Linked DNA regions of Homo sapiens: region 2 is linked to region 1. The links are contacts of gene promoters, found by promoter capture Hi-C in human tissues and cell types (Jung and others, 2019). All regions are on one chromosome and are shown on one strand. Each heading gives the region's core, a stretch centred on a gene start or on the middle of the fragment in contact. The rest is flanking DNA. Distances are from core to core; before and after follow the strand shown.

Region 1 (7,618 bases), core at 1,863-4,362:
GACTCTGTCTCAAAAAAAAAAAAAAAAAAAAAATTGGCTGTGTCAAATATTTCTAGTATTTATTTTTTTAAGACAATAGAAAAAGAATTGCTTTTAGAATGGTGTTTTTTTTTTTTTTTTGAGACAGAGTCTTGCTCTGTAGCCAGGCTGGAGTGCACTGGCGTGATGTCAGCTCACTGCAACCTCTGCCTCCCAGGTTCAAGAGATTCTCCTGCCTCAGCCTCCCGAGTAGCTGGGACTACAGGCCCACGCCACCATGCCCAGCTAAATTTTGTATTTTTAGTAGAGATGGGCTTTCACCACATTGGCCAGGATTGTCTGGATCTCTTGACCTTGTGATCCGCCCGCTTTGGCCTCCCAAAGTGCTGGGATTACAGGTGTGAGCCAGCCGCTTTTTTTTTTTTTTTTTAATCTTACCTATAGACTTGCATGATTCAAGATAAAATGCTTTTTAAAGGAGAAAAGGTACAGAAAATAATTTTAAATTCTGCCGGAAAGACTGGTATAATGTTCTAAAGTCACTCACTGGCCATAACCTATCTTTGCTCCTTAATTTCTCATTAATCCTAACATCACCCTTAGACACAGCCTGGTATCTCCAACGACACTCCTCTTAAATAAGCCTTGCCTAGACCTGCTTCTCAGCATCAACTGTTCTTTCTACCTACAATGCCCTCCTCTCCCATCCAAAGGATCTCTCTTTTAAGACCTAAATTGAGTTCTTCCAGTAAACTTTCCACAACAGTCACAGCCCATTGTTTTCTCTCCTCTCAACTGCCAATTTACTATCTGTACATCTCATTATTTGGTAGTGATCATATACTTGCCAACTAAACCTGAAGAACCCTGTCTTAGCCACTTCCCAACCCAATGCCCAGAAGAGTGCTTTCTAGAGTAGGTTCTCAAATATTAGGCAGTATAGCAGACATGAAGAATATACCTTAAGTCTTTCTCTTTCTATGTCTGGTTTGAGGAGCTTTCTCAGGAACCGGTTTTCCGGTGACTTTCTTTTTTCCCGTCCAGTCTTTGGACAAAGTATGGAGTTACAAACTTGAACTGTACTTTTATACTTAAACAAGGGCACATTCATTAAACTCTCTAAATTCTGAAATGGCCCAAAGTTTTCTCTGTGCTCTACGATATTGATGGACCTTCTTCCACGAAGCAATCGGAAAGCTTCAAGTTCTTTAGTAGATGCTGTATTCAACACATGCAAGATGGAAGCCTGCTGTTCTGAAGAGAAGAGCTTGTCAAGTGCATTTTCGGGCTCCTTTGCATTTTCATCACAAAAAGTAACATTGGGAGTAATTTTCTTAGGTGTAGTGGATTTTTTCCGACAGCAGAAATTATGTAAGGCCCAGTACAGGGATGACCTCGACGGGGTCAGAAAGCATCTCCACCTCTCTAAAAGGAAAATTTAGCAAAATATAAGTTGGATGTCCTACTTCCTTTGGGGTTAGTTGCAAGCTTGACTAGATCCTTTGCAAAGTCACAAATACTTTCCTGGAATTTAAGAACTAATAGAGGACAATATTAAATTGTCTTGGAGAATCATCTTTTTTTTTTTTTTTTGAGACGGAGTCTTGCTCTGTTGCCCAGGCTGGAGTGCAGTGGCCGATCTCGGCTCACTGCAAGCTCCGCCTCCCAGGTTCACGCCATTCTCCTGCCTCAGCCTCCCAGGTGGCTGGGACTACAGGCGCCTGCCACCACGCCCGGCTAATTTTTTGTATATTTAGTAGAGACGGGGTTTCACAGTGTTAGCCAGGATGGTCTCCATCTCCTGACCTCGTGATCCGCCCACCTCAGCCTCCCAAAGTGCTGGGATTACAGGCGTGAGCCACTGTGCCCGGCCCGAGAATCATCTTTAAAAGAGGATTAGTTTTTAAACTATATTATATAGAGTTTTAAATAGAGCTTTTGTTGTTTTCAAGTCACGAGAGATGTCTCCCGATATTTATGGATCAGTCCGAAGTTTTACTACCTAGAAAATTGTATTTTATACCCATCAGGAAGCAAGTAGTTGAAATAATTATTCCAACTGCTTAAAGTTTCTGATATTTTTAATTTAGAGGAATCTTTTTGTAACTAATATTTCCTGTTAAGGTTTGTCTTAGGCCGGGCGCGGTGACTCACGCTTATAATCCCAGCACTTTGGGAGGCCGAGGTGGGCGGATCACCTGAGGTCGGGAGTTCGAGACCAGCCTGACCAACATGGAGAAACCCTGTCTCTACTAATAATACAAAATTAGCCGGGCGTGGTGGCACATGCCTGTAATCCCAGCTACTCGGGAGGCTGAGGCAGGAGAATCGCTTGAGCCCGGAAGGCGGAGGTTGCGGTGAGCCGAGATCGCACCATTGCACTCCAGTCTCGGCAACAAGAGCGAAACTCCGTCTCAAAAAAAAAAAAAAAAGGGTTTTGTCTTCACTTCCATTTTCACATTTTAGTATCTCATCTGGTGGAACTAAATAAAATTAAATTTTGTACGTTTATAAGAAATGTTTCAGCTAAGTGATAGATTTAAGGGCAGTTTTACTTTCTTCCGTACACTTTTCAAGACTTCTACATGACGTTTTTGCAAGTATGAGAAACACCATACAATGCATAACTTTGTAAAACCAGTGGGAAGTCACTCTAACATCGCAGCCACAGGAAAGTAATGTGGCCAGAGGTAAGCAAGCGGCTGTGAGAATGTGAACCATCCGCCCACTCTGAGGAGCCACCCGTGGACCCTGAGGCCGGGGAAGCACAAATGTTCCGAAAACTGCCCCGTCAGCTAGGCTGGGGCCCCAAGAGAGGGGCCTGAACAAGGGACATGAGGAAGGAAACACTCTAGGACATGAGGGACATGAGGAAGGAAACACTCCAGGTTCCTCCAGAATACCTCCAGCCGTATTCCATTAGCCTCTAGGGTCAGAGGCTAATGACAGACGGGAAATCACCCCAGTGTTCCAAGCACCCTACCTCCCGCCGTATTCCATTAGCCTCTAGGGTCAGAGGCTAATGACAGACGGGAAATCACCCCAGTGTTCCAAGCACCCTACCTCCCGCCGTGAAGAGGACAGACCCGCTCATCTCCAAGTTGAATCAGTAGGTCCAGTCTTCCTCCATTGACTTCCGGTTCCTGCGTGCTGCGCCCAAAAGCGCTCGGCCTGCACTCGGCGGAAAGGTTGTTGTCCAAGCGGCGTTCCGGGGCAAGGCCCGAGGTGTGTCCCGCTGAGCAGTGGGTCGTCCGCGTCTGGGCTGCGGGCTTCCAGGCGGGCGCCTGCCGAGGCCCTGTCCCCGGATCCCGAGTCCCTGGCTGGCCCGCAGTCTTCTTCCACTGCACCGGGGAAACGTTCTTGCCCCTACCGACTCCTGAGAGCCGCTGGGCCGAATCTCCAGGAAGGCGATTCCGAGGCCAGTTTTAGTCTGTAGTGGGTAAAGTGCCTCCTTCGTGGAGACTCCCTGGGTTTCTCCTAGACACTTAGATTGAGGAGCTCCTGTTGGGGCCCAGCCTGTGGCGCCGGGAGCGGGATCAGGTAGGGGCAGCGTAGACAAGGTCCTCAAATAACCTTTTCACCAGGTAGACTGGAATAACGGGGAGAGATGCGAAGTGTTTGAGGAGCTCAGCGGGGAAACAGGGCAGGCAAGGGATTAGGTAAAGGCGAGGGAGGAGGAGATTGCGTTGGCGCTGGAGCGGTATTCCTCTTAGAAGGGATAAAGGGAGATGAATGTAGCGCCGAATTTAGTTGGTCCTTGAATAATGGGTGGAGCAGTTGAATACTCCACCAGATAGGAAGCCTGAAGTCCCCGAGGTTTATGATTTGCAGTCAGACTGGAGAGTGTTCCTAGAAAATTGGCCATATACTGTATAGCGAATGTGAGGCTGGATTGCAGGTGAAGAGCCTGGGAGCAATGAGAAGTCGCGAAGAGAGTGTATCTTCCCAGGTGAGAGGCAAGCGTAAGGAATTTTTTTTTTAACAGTCTTGCTCTGTCGCCCAGGTTGGAGTGCAGTGGTGCGATCTGGACTCACTGCAAACTCCGCCTCCCGATTTCAAGTGATTCTCGTGCCTCAGCCTCCCGAGTAGCTGAGATTACAGGCGAGCGCCACTACGCCCGGCTAATTTTTGTATTTTTAGTAGAGACAGGTGTCACCATGTTGGCCAGGCTGGTCTCGAACTCCTGACCTCAGGTGATCCGCCCGACTCGGCCTCCCAAAGTGCTGGGATTACAGGCGTGGGCCACTGCGCCTGGCCAACCGTAAGGAATTGAACCTAGGAGATGTAAGGAGAGTGGAAAGAAAAGAATTATTTCTGGAAGATGGGGAGCCAGTTTTGTGAAAAACGGGGAATTCAGGAGGGAGGGAAAGGTGATGAGTTTGCGTTTTTATGAGGCAGCAATGGGTTGATTGTTTGTGTCTGGAAGGCAGTGGGGATGTAGGGGAATCATAAGTATTAATAAAATGTGCTGGTCGGGAGCAGTGGCTCCCAAAGTGTAATTCCAGCACTTTGGGAGGCCGAGACGGGCGGATCGCTTGAGCTCTTGAGTTCCAGACCACCCTGGGCAACATGGCGAAACCCCGTCTCTACGAAAAAATTAGCCGGGTGTGGTGGAGCACGCCTGTTATCCCAGCTACTCAGGAGGCTGAGGTGGGAGAATCACCTGAGCCCGGGAGGTAGAGGTTGCAGTGAGTGGAGATCGTGTCACCACACTCCAGCGTGGGGGACAGAGCCAGACCTTGTCTCAAAAAAAGAAAAAAAATTGCTCATAGGAAGTCTAGAAACCTTGGCAGTTTCTGGGGAACTTAGGAATCTAACAAGAAATAACATCAACTTTTTTCTGCAAAATCCTCCAAATCAGGAGGAAATAATTTCCTCAACTGTAGGGCTTATTCAGTTTACTGAGATGTTATGATTGAATTGCATCCCTCAAAACAGATTTGTTGAAGTCCTAACCCCCAGTACCTTATTATTTCCAAATAAGGTCATTGTAGATGTAACTAATTAAAATGAGGACAGGAAGGCCGGCACGGTGGCTCACGCCTGTAATCCCAGCGCTTTGGGAGGCCGAGGAGGGGGGATTACGAGGTCAGGAGATCGAGACCATCCTGGATAACACGGTGAAACCCCGTCTCTACTAAAAAATACAAAAAATTAGCCGGGCGTGGTGGCGGGCGCCTGTAGTCCCAGCTACTCAGGAGGCTGAGGTAGGAGAATGGCGTGAACCCGGGAGGCAGAGCTTGCAGCGAGCTGAGATGGCACCACTGCACTCCAGCCTGGGCGACAGAGCGAGACTCTGTCTCAAAAAAATAAGTAAATAAATAAAATAAAATGAGGACACGCTGGACTGGGGCAGGGACTAATCCAACATGGCTGCTGTTCTTATGAGAAGATGACTCTGTGAATGCCATGTGAAGATGGAAGCGGAGATTGGAATGATGCTTTCTACAAACCCAGAAAGGCCAAGGGTTGCCAATAGTCACTAGAAACTAGGAGAGAGGCATGGGCCAGAGTCCCCTTAGAGCCCTTTGAAGGAACAAGCCCGGATAACACCTTGATTTTGGGCTTCCAGCCTCCTGAACTGGAGAGAATAAATGACCAGTTTGTGGTCATTTGTTACAGCAGCCCTAAGAAACTAATACAAGAGGCCATAAGGATTCCTGGTGTTGCTTTCAGAGATGGTCTGGTTCGCTAGCAAGACACAGTTTATCACTTAGTAACTGCATCACCATAGTCAGTTTCTTATCCTCTCTGAACCTCACCTTCCTCATTTGTAAAACGGAGTTAATGGTACCTACCTCACAGGGCTGCTTGGAGGATGCATGAGAAACTGGATGCAAAGAACCCAGCATAAGATAAGAGTTCAATCAATGTGGTTTTGCCCAGTAAAGCATCCCCCCTCTTCCTGAGAAATGATTATGAATGACCTATAGGGGAATCACCCTCCTTCCTGAAAGCATTTATTCAGAAATATGCTTTGACCAGAGCCAGAAATACAAAGGAAAGAGATAAGTATTGCCTGATTTACTGTAAACCAGAATTGATGCCTCCAAAATGAAAGTCACCGTCTTCCCCCAAAAACTAGCTCCTTCTCACTTCCCTGTTTTTGTCACCCAGATGCAGGTGTCTCTGGCTCTTTCTACTCCTTCCATCATTATGTCTAGCCTGTTATCTAGTTTCTGTGTTTTTAAAACTTTTGACTGATCCAGGATACATGTGTGATACAAAAGTTTCATTAAAAAAAAAAAAAGGCCAGGTGTGGTGGTTCAACACTTGTAATACCAGCACTTTGGGAGAGCAAGGCAGGCAGATTCATTGAGCCCAGGAGTTTACGACCAGCCTGGGCAACATGGCAAGACCCCATCTTTACCAAAAATACCAAAAAAAATTAGCTGGGCATAGTGGTATGCGCCTGTAGTTCCAGCTACTTGGGAGGCTGAGGTGGGAGAATCCCTTGAGCCTGGGAGGTGGAGGTCGTAGTGAGCAGAGATTGCACCACTGTACTCAAGCCTGGGTGGCAGAGTGAGACCCTGACTAAATGAAAAACAAAAACAACCATTGTATTTTTGCATGTGATACAACCTGATATTTTCTATTTCCTTCTTTTTTTTTTAAGTTAGGAGTGCAAAAGGTTTATTGAAAAAAACAAAAACAAACTAAAATCTGTTTTGAAGCCTGCAGGACATTAGAGGGTGATGTCCAATAGATAGAGATGCACATCTGAAGCTAAGGAGGAGCACTGAGCTGGGGTGTATGTTTGGAGGCCGTCAGCCTGTAGAGATGGTACTTTACTCATGAGAACAGATACGAGGAGCCAGGGAGAGGGGGTAGGCGTGAGAAAAGCACAGTGAGATAAGGAGAGAACTCCTTGGGAGCACCACCATTAGATGTGGTTAGAGGATTCCGATTCCCAAGAAGATTGAGAAACAATGTTCACATTTAAAAGGAAACAGGAGGCTGGGCACTGTGGCTCACGCCTGTAATCCCAGCACTTTGGGAGGCCAAGGCAGGCAGATCACCTGAGGTCAGAAGTTCGAGACCAGCTTGGCCAACATGGTGAAACCCCATCTCTACTGAAAATACAAAAATTAGCCGGGCGTGGTGGTGGGCGCCTGTAATCACAGCTACTTGGGAGGCTGAGGCAGGAGAATGGCCTGAACCTGGAGGCAGAGGTTGCAGTGAGCCGAGATTGCACCACTGCATTCCAGCCTGGGCGATAAGAGAGAGACTCCGTCTCAAAGAAAACCAAAAAACAAAAAACACCACATTGCAATACCACTACACACCCATGAGAATACCTACTGGAAATCTCATACATTGCTGATGGAAGTGTGGGTTGGTTGAATCACTTTGAAAAGCTGGCAATATCTACTAAAGCTGAAGATTTGTATATCCTATGGTCCTGCAGTCCAACCCCGGGTGTATATCCAACAGAATGCAAACAAATGTGCACTAAAGGACATGCAACTAATGGAGCTATATGTATAAAATTGCCAGTATTTGCCAGTTGTCTATTTGCAAAAATGGCAATTTCACATGGTTAAACCTGATTACAAGAATGCTCATAGCAGCACTATTTGTATTAGCCAAAACCTCAATGGCAGATTATTGTGTATATATTGAATAAACGTTTCACCCA
Region 2 (7,618 bases), core at 2,583-5,082, 420 kb after region 1:
TGTGTTGGTTGATAAGCTGGTGTGGATTCTGCCACATCCAGCAAGGAAGATACCATTAAATTACACAGTTTAGCTCTCTCTATCTATGCATTAGGAATTTGACTTCCATTTGATGTTAAAGCATATACTTGGCTTTAAGGACACACTAAAACTATTCAAAGTTTAATTACATTCAGACAAAGATCATCTAACCACTGTTGCTACATAGGGAATATTTATTTAATTATCCCTTGCTATCTCTATTAATCAGTTTCCTCAATTTATCCTTAAAATTTTCCTCAAATGCTTAGTTATTTTATTATTTGCTTTTTAAAATATTCAGTGTCAAAACAAAAGTACACAGTTTAAATAATTAAGCAGGCATACTTCTCCCTGTCTCACCTGCTTGATTCTAAATTGCAAGGTCTACCATGTCAAATTTTAGATAATCAGAACAACACTTTGGGATTAAATACCAACTGACTTCATTTTTACTCCATAAGCCTTCTCATTGCTACTTTGCATTTTTCTTCACTAACCTATCTGTTTGTTAGTAAGTTTTTCAGTTCCTTCTTCATCTTTTCTTTCCCTTGTAGCTGTGAGCACTCCAGTAGATTGCATCACTAGGTTGGGTCCTGTGAGCTGTTTTGTTCTTTTCCAAGTGTCTGATTCAGCGGGCCATAGACCGCTTGCCAGAAAATCGCCATTGCTTCTAGGCTGACGCTTGCCTACTTGTTTTGATCGTCTGAGAGAAGAGACTTTGTTTGCCAAAACCACAGTTGATAGAAATAGAAAGGTACAGATAAGAAAAAGCACTGCAATTATAATTAAGCAAATTAGCATAGCCATGTTGTTGTTGTTTTCCGCACAGACATCCTTTTTGAAAATTTCACCATGACTTTTGCTTGTGTTTTCAATGCTCTGTACTGTTGAAGGACTGTTGCTGACGACAGAAGGTATATAAAGCTCCTGTTCAGATTTAGAAGTTAAAGCTACGATGTGAGATGTTTCAGGCATGTTTGTAGAATTACCTTTATAATCTACTTCAGGAGTTATAGGGTTTGTGTTAATGTTTTCATTTTGGTTTCTGCCTGTCTTGTTTTGAATAACTGAATCCCAGGAAGAAGTACTGTTAGCCCACAGACGGGTATAGTTTGCTTTTGTTCCAGGAGACAAAGAAAAAACTGTTGTCATCAGAAAGGCAAGATGTAGGTAATGTCCTGTGTGTTCCATGTCCGTGGGCATGCTTGGCAATCTGTTGGGATAGCAATATAATTTGTTAGTTTGTGAAAGAATAATGGATCCTAGTTTTGGTAATTGTAGTTAAAAGATAGTGTTGAGATGTTACAAGTAAACTACAAGCTTATGCCTAATATTCGCTACCCTGAATTCCTTCTCAACTAAATTTCTTTTCTATTCAGCTATGTATGAAGAAGCATTTTAATTTCTATTAACACTTTTAGATGCTAGAAGTTAGCATTACAAATAAATATTAATCATTTTAAGTGGACTATCATGGCTTTATATAGTTTTCTTCCTTTGAAGCGTGCTAGACTTCTGCTTTGAGTCAGTTAGTTCTGCTTTTACTTTTCTGATTCCTTCTTTAAAAAAAAAAAAAAATTAAGGATCATTCTTACAGAAACTACCCACCCTCTAACCTGTCACCAATCTTTACAGAAGAAATGTGGCCTTGAGCTTCTTGCTTCATGTATGAAATAAATGCAAATTTTTTTGGTGGAAAGAGGGGAAGTTTGGTAGCAACCAAAAGAAACTGAACTTCAAATAGAAATTCAAGGTGTTCTTTTTTTTTCTTGGGTGTTCATCTTGAAGCTTAGAATAAAGCTGGTACTTAGAAATACATTTGTAAGTGTATTTGTGAACGCAATTTTACTGTGGTGGTTGTCTCTTTTCATTTATATTTCCCTGGACTGACTGTGTCTTTCTGAAGGCAAAGGCATACCAGTTTTCTCAACCTAAAAATCTGAAGAAAAAAAAAAAAAAACAGCAAATTTCCTCTGAGTAGACTTAAAAGTTCAACAAAAGTTGCTGGGTTTTCTTTTAAAGCATCATTTATACCTAGCATTTTTTCTGATTTTGACATAATTGTAAAAAAAAATGTGTAATAAAATAGAAATAGAGCATCAGGATCTTGATGATTTGGGATGAAGTGGCAGGTTATAAGCATCTCAACAGATAATTGAAAATGTTGAATTTCCGCTTTGGCCCTGAGCTTGCTGGAAACTAGTACAAAAAGGAGACAAGTTATATTATACATTTTTTAAATCTACCAAATGATTGATTTAAATAGAAATGGCATATCTTAGAATTTAACAGTTCCATGTACTGCTAACCCAGCAGGAAAGATTTATAATCATTATTAAGGTATCTTATAATAATATACCAGTTTGTCTTGAGCTACTTTTGAAAGGAGTATTTTATTGTTAGCATTTATTTGAATGAACTAAAAGCAAAACTATATTGTTCTCCTGAGATTTACTAAATGAAATTGCCTGGTTAAGAACCCTACGTATGCTATAGAAATTCTTCTCAAATGTACTTAGGAGTCCTTTTATTTAAAAAAAAAAAAAAAAGGCAGATTCTTACCTAGCTAGTATAGGTAGGGCCTGAAAGTCTTTGTTTCCAAACCAACTCCTAAGCAACATGGATGCCACTGCTAGTCAGGCTTTTGAACATCAAGGTTTTATAAGAAATGGTTGTTATATGTCATTGGCTGACATTTGTATACTATTAAAATACAGAAATTGAAAATAAGAAATGTGATACGTTGAGTTATGCAAACAAAAGTAGCATGTAATAAACAATGCTAACTGGAGACTATATTTCATATTAATAGTAGGGAGGAAAAACTATTAAATATTCCAGGATTAAGATTACTTTTTAGATTATGACCTTTAGTAGACAATTAAAGGCCCAAGTCACTGGCTTTTGTATAATAGTGTTCAGCTTTAATTTTTAAGTTTAGTGACATAAATCTTTGGATATTTCATGATTCTTCCACAAAAAGAAATACTTGAAATTGGATTAGCAAGTAATTTCCATCTTTTTATACTAGACTGGACTTCTGTATTAGATGCTAGAATGATTTAAAGTAGATTATTCTTTTCACATTAGTTCATTAACAGTGTAGTATACATCATAGTATTGGTACACATTTTAACAGTGCTTACCACGGAACAGATAATAGGCCTGCTGTTGATTGTCTTCAGCCAGATGTACTGCAGTGCCCAAATAAACAAACTGTATGACAAAATGAGACTTTCTCTTGCCCTTACAAATGCCTGAGAATTGAGGACTGTTTTTACTCCAGTTTATGCCTTGGAGGCCAGGTTGTGTTATCAGAAGTTTTCTTATATCTGATCATTTTCAGTAGAATTTATTTTCAGTAGAATTTGTAATGTCCAAGCATTAGTAATGAGAAATTTATTTTTTAACTTTTGAAAAATAACAAAACATTTCCAGTTTACTTGAGGAAACCAAACTTAGATCCTTCGTAATCCTAATTTAAAACTCCATGGCGATGGCAAATTTTTTCATTTCTAACTTAAAATTTATGTAACAGGACAGAAAAAAAAAGTATACATTTTCAGTCACAATTCTAGTTTGTTAGTGAGATTCTTACACACTTTGATAGCATTTCCTCGAACACTAATCTGTCAGACGTTAGAAGTGAAAAGGCATAAGAAAAGCCGTATATATATGACCTACCTTACAAAATGCTTGGTCAAAATCTGATTATAACGTGATTTTGATAAACCACTTCTTTTCTTGTCTTCTTTTTAAAGCAGAATAGACTTGGAGAATATGAGCCTTAAAGTAAATCTGCAGTAAAAAAGGATATGTGCAGCTAGTTTTCCACTTTTAAAACCAAACCACAGATGACACATTTCCTTTCCACTGCAACTAAAGCACATGTCACAGGAGGGAAAAAAAAAAAAACAACGAAAAAGCTCCAACTTCTCTAGTTGGCCACTGGCATGACAGGAGGCTTTGTAGAACCAATCCCCGCCTCCAGAGCAGGGAGGGTTTTCCACTTAATGCCTTTTGACAGTATGCTCATTCTATAGGCCTGCTACATGCTTTAGTGTCATTCAAAAGAGGTTTTGAAATGGTATCTTCCATTTCAAATCTTCTCTAAAAGACTTATTTGAAATCTACAGACTGATTTGAAAATGTGAGTTTGGAGTCCATGGGATACTGATCAGATAATGTAACAATTGTGGAACTGCAGCAATTATTTGAGAAAATATCTAGTAAACTTAGATTATATGGGACAGAAAATGCTTTCGTGTGGTGTAGTGTGTGTATACACACACACACACACACACACACACACACACACAACTGTCAAACATCCTGTCATCACCTCAAGTTTAACATGACTGAAACAGACTTTAAGAACTAGGTATGGGCTGAACACGGTGGCTCACACCTGTAATCCCAGCACGTTGGGAGGGTTGACGCAGGCAGATCACTTGAGGCCAGGAGTTCAAGACCAGCCTGGCCAACATAGAGAAAACCTGTCTCTACTAAAAATATAAAAATTAACCAGGCAGGGTAGCATGCACCTGTAGTCCCACCTACTTGGGAGGCTGAGACAGGAGAATAGCTTGAACCCGGGACGTGGAGGCTGCAGAGATCATGAGATCTTGGCTGCATGAGCTAAGATCATGCCACTGCACTCCAGCCAGGAAGACAGAGTAAGACTCTGTCTCAAAAAAAAAAAAAAAAAAAAAAAAAAAAAAAAAAAGAACTGGATATGGCAGCACATATCTGTAATCCCAGCTACTAGGTAGGTTGAGGTAGGAGGATCACTGGTGGAGCCCAGGAGTTCAAATCCAGCCTGGGTAACATAGCAAGACTCCATCTCTTAAAAATTAATTAAATTAATGAAATAAAAAGAACTTTATTTTTTCTTTAAAGGAGGCTGCCTGTGACAGTCTTCTTGTTTCTGTTCATGATAGCAACATTCTAATATCAGAGGCTTAGTATACAACACATCATTTTAATTTAAGTCCTCTCAGTCCTGATCAGACTTTGAATCATGTTGGTCCTTCCTTCATATTGTTGGATCAGTTTCTTTTTCCCTGTTTTTACTGTCAACAGTACTATTTTAGATCCTTATCAGGTCATACCTAGACTCTACAGTGCCTTTTCGGTAGCCCTGAATCCTTCTTATATCTTGTATACATCACTGTCTTTGGTCATACCACCCTTTCTTTAAGGGAAAATAAAACCGGTTGAACAGTTCCCTAATACATACAACAATGATTCAGAAATGTTTGTGTACATAAACATCAGATGAGAAGATTGTTTAAAAATTATAAAAGCAGGACATGGTGGCTCACACCTGTAATCTCAGCACTTTGGGAGGCTGAGGCGGGAGGATTACTTGAGCCACAGAAATTCGAGACCAGCCTGGGCAGCATGGCAAAATCCTGTCTCTACAAAAAATACAAAAAAACAAAAACAAAAAACTAGCCGGGCATGGTGGCGCTTATCTGTAGTCCCAGCTACTCAGGAGGCTGAGGTGGGAGGATCACCTGAGCCTGGGGAGGTCAAGGCTACAGTGAGCTGTGACCGTGCCACTGCAGTCCAGCCTGAGTTAAGGGAAAAAAAAAAAAGATAAAAATTTCCAGGCCCCACTACATAGATCCATATTTAGTAGGTCCAGGTTGGGACCAGGAAACTGCATTTTTATCAAGCACCACAGTTGATTCTGACGCCAGTAGTCCACAGAACATATGCTGAGAAATGGTGAGCCCCTAGTAGAAAACCTAAGCCCTTTGGTTGGGCAGTTATGGTCTCTCCACAATTTGACTATTCTGTATTTTCCCAGCTTTATCTCTCAAAACTTCTCTACCTGAATCCTCCATTCTGGCTAGACTAGCTGTCTCTTCAACACATCTAGTTACCTGTTTCTTTTCCTTTTTGCCTTTCTCCATAAGGCCTGCCCAGTCCTCTTGCTGAGTCTGCATTCCTCCTTACCTGATTCAGCCACTGTATCTTCTATGTAGCTTTCACTGACTGCCCAGTTTGTGTTAATCTCTCTCTCTCTCTCCTTTGTCTTAATAACAGTATTTTCTCTGCATTTCCTTTGATAAGTGATTACTTTCTACCTCATATCTTCTATCTTGAAATATTTGTGTTGTTTTAAAATCATTTGACTTGTCATATTTTTATCTTATTTTCTCCCAACAAGATTAAAAATTCTGAGGTGAAGTTTTTTATTGATACATGATAATTTGTACATATTAATGGAGTATGTGTGATTTTTTTGGTTTTTTTTGTTTTTGTTTTTGTTGGAATCTCGCTCTATCGCCCAGGCTGGAGTGCAGTGGCACAATCTCAGCTCACTGCAAACTCCCCTCCCAGGTTCAAGCAATTCTCCTGCCTCAGCCTCCCAAGTAGCTGGGGCTACAGGCACGTGCCACCACGCCCAGCTAATTTTTGTATTTTTAGTAGAGACAGGGTTTCACCCTGTTGGCCAGGCTAGTCTTGACCTCCTGACCTCAGGTGATCTGCCCGTCTTGGCCTCCCAAAGTGCTGGGATTGCAGGCGTGAGCCACCATGCCCTGCCTGTATGTGTGATATTTTGATACATGCATATAATGTGTAATGATTAAATCAGGGTGATTAGGATATCCATTGCCTCAAAGAAAAGAAATTGTTTCGTCTAGCTGTTTTGAAATATACAATGTTATTATTAACTAGTCACCTTACTATGAATAGTAGAACTTGTTCCTTCTATCTAATTCTAACAATACATATATTATTTATTTTATTATTATTTTTTTAAGACAGTCTCACTGTTGCCCAGGCTGAAGTGCAGTGGTACAATCTCAGCTCGCTGCAGCCTCTGCCTCCCAGGTCCAAGTGATTCTCGTGCCTCAGCCTCCCAAGTAGCTGGGATTACAGACATGTACCACCATGCCTGGCTGATTTTTGTATTTTTAGTAGAGACAGCGTTTTGCCATGTTGGCCAGGCTGGTCTCGAACTCCTGGCCTTATGTAACCCACCTGCCTCAGCCTCCCAGAGTGCTGGGAATACAGGCGTGAGCCACTGTGCCCAGCCCTGATTATATTTTTATATCCATTAACCAACCTCTGAGGTAAAGATTTATTTTAACTTACTTAGTAGTATTATCACCAGAATCATCACATATGGAAAACTTTGGGCCTAAGTTAACATAGATTGTTTTGATTTGAAACTTTGGTACCATTACTTCAGGGCTTTTTCATGGTCCTCACTGTGGCTGCTCCCATTTATTAGTATTCTTTTGGTTTTAAGCAACATATGACCTAATATGGCTTAATCAAAAAATGGTATTTATTGGCTTATGTAACTGAGCAGTCCTGGGATAAATTTGACCCCAGGAGAGGCTTTATCTCATACACAAATGATATGGCCAGGGTTCCAGTTTGTCTATTTCTCAGCTCCTTCTCTTCAGTCTTTTGGGAGGCTCTTCTTTTATATCCCAAAATATGAGCTAGCAACTCCTAGGGCTACGTATTCCCTTGTTTATAAACACCAGGAAAGAAATATCTCAAATCCCAACAATTTAAGCTAAACTACCTGAACTGGGCCTCTTTGGCCCTGGTTGTCCTGGTTTGAATAATG

Evidence for each region. The method cuts DNA at HindIII sites, captures the fragments that hold promoters and counts their contacts. A contact is called where the count stands out against the background at its distance.
Region 2: a contact is called between the fragment with the promoter of EVI2A here and the fragment with the promoter of TEFM in region 1, in 1 of the 25 tissues and cell types used here (IMR-90 fibroblasts).

Annotation. Positions count from the first base shown.
Region 1 is chr17:30,903,126-30,910,743 of GRCh38, forward strand. TEFM (transcription elongation factor, mitochondrial) reads right to left here and starts at 3,113. Exons shown (of 4, transcript NM_024683.4): 1 at 3,043-3,113; 2 at 941-1,404. The coding sequence starts at 3,073. RefSeq lists enhancers at 3,603-3,872, 3,851-4,651. The HindIII fragment of the contact is 8,355 bases long and covers 204-7,618 here.
Region 2 is chr17:31,317,790-31,325,407 of GRCh38, forward strand. It overlaps EVI2A (ecotropic viral integration site 2A), which reads right to left and starts at 3,833. Exons shown (of 2, transcript NM_014210.4): 1 at 3,706-3,833; 2 at 1-1,234. The coding sequence starts at 1,224. The coding sequence ends at 514. The region is part of intron 36 of NF1 (neurofibromin 1); the gene reads left to right. RefSeq lists enhancers at 662-711, 922-981. The HindIII fragment of the contact is 10,482 bases long and covers 1,576-7,618 here.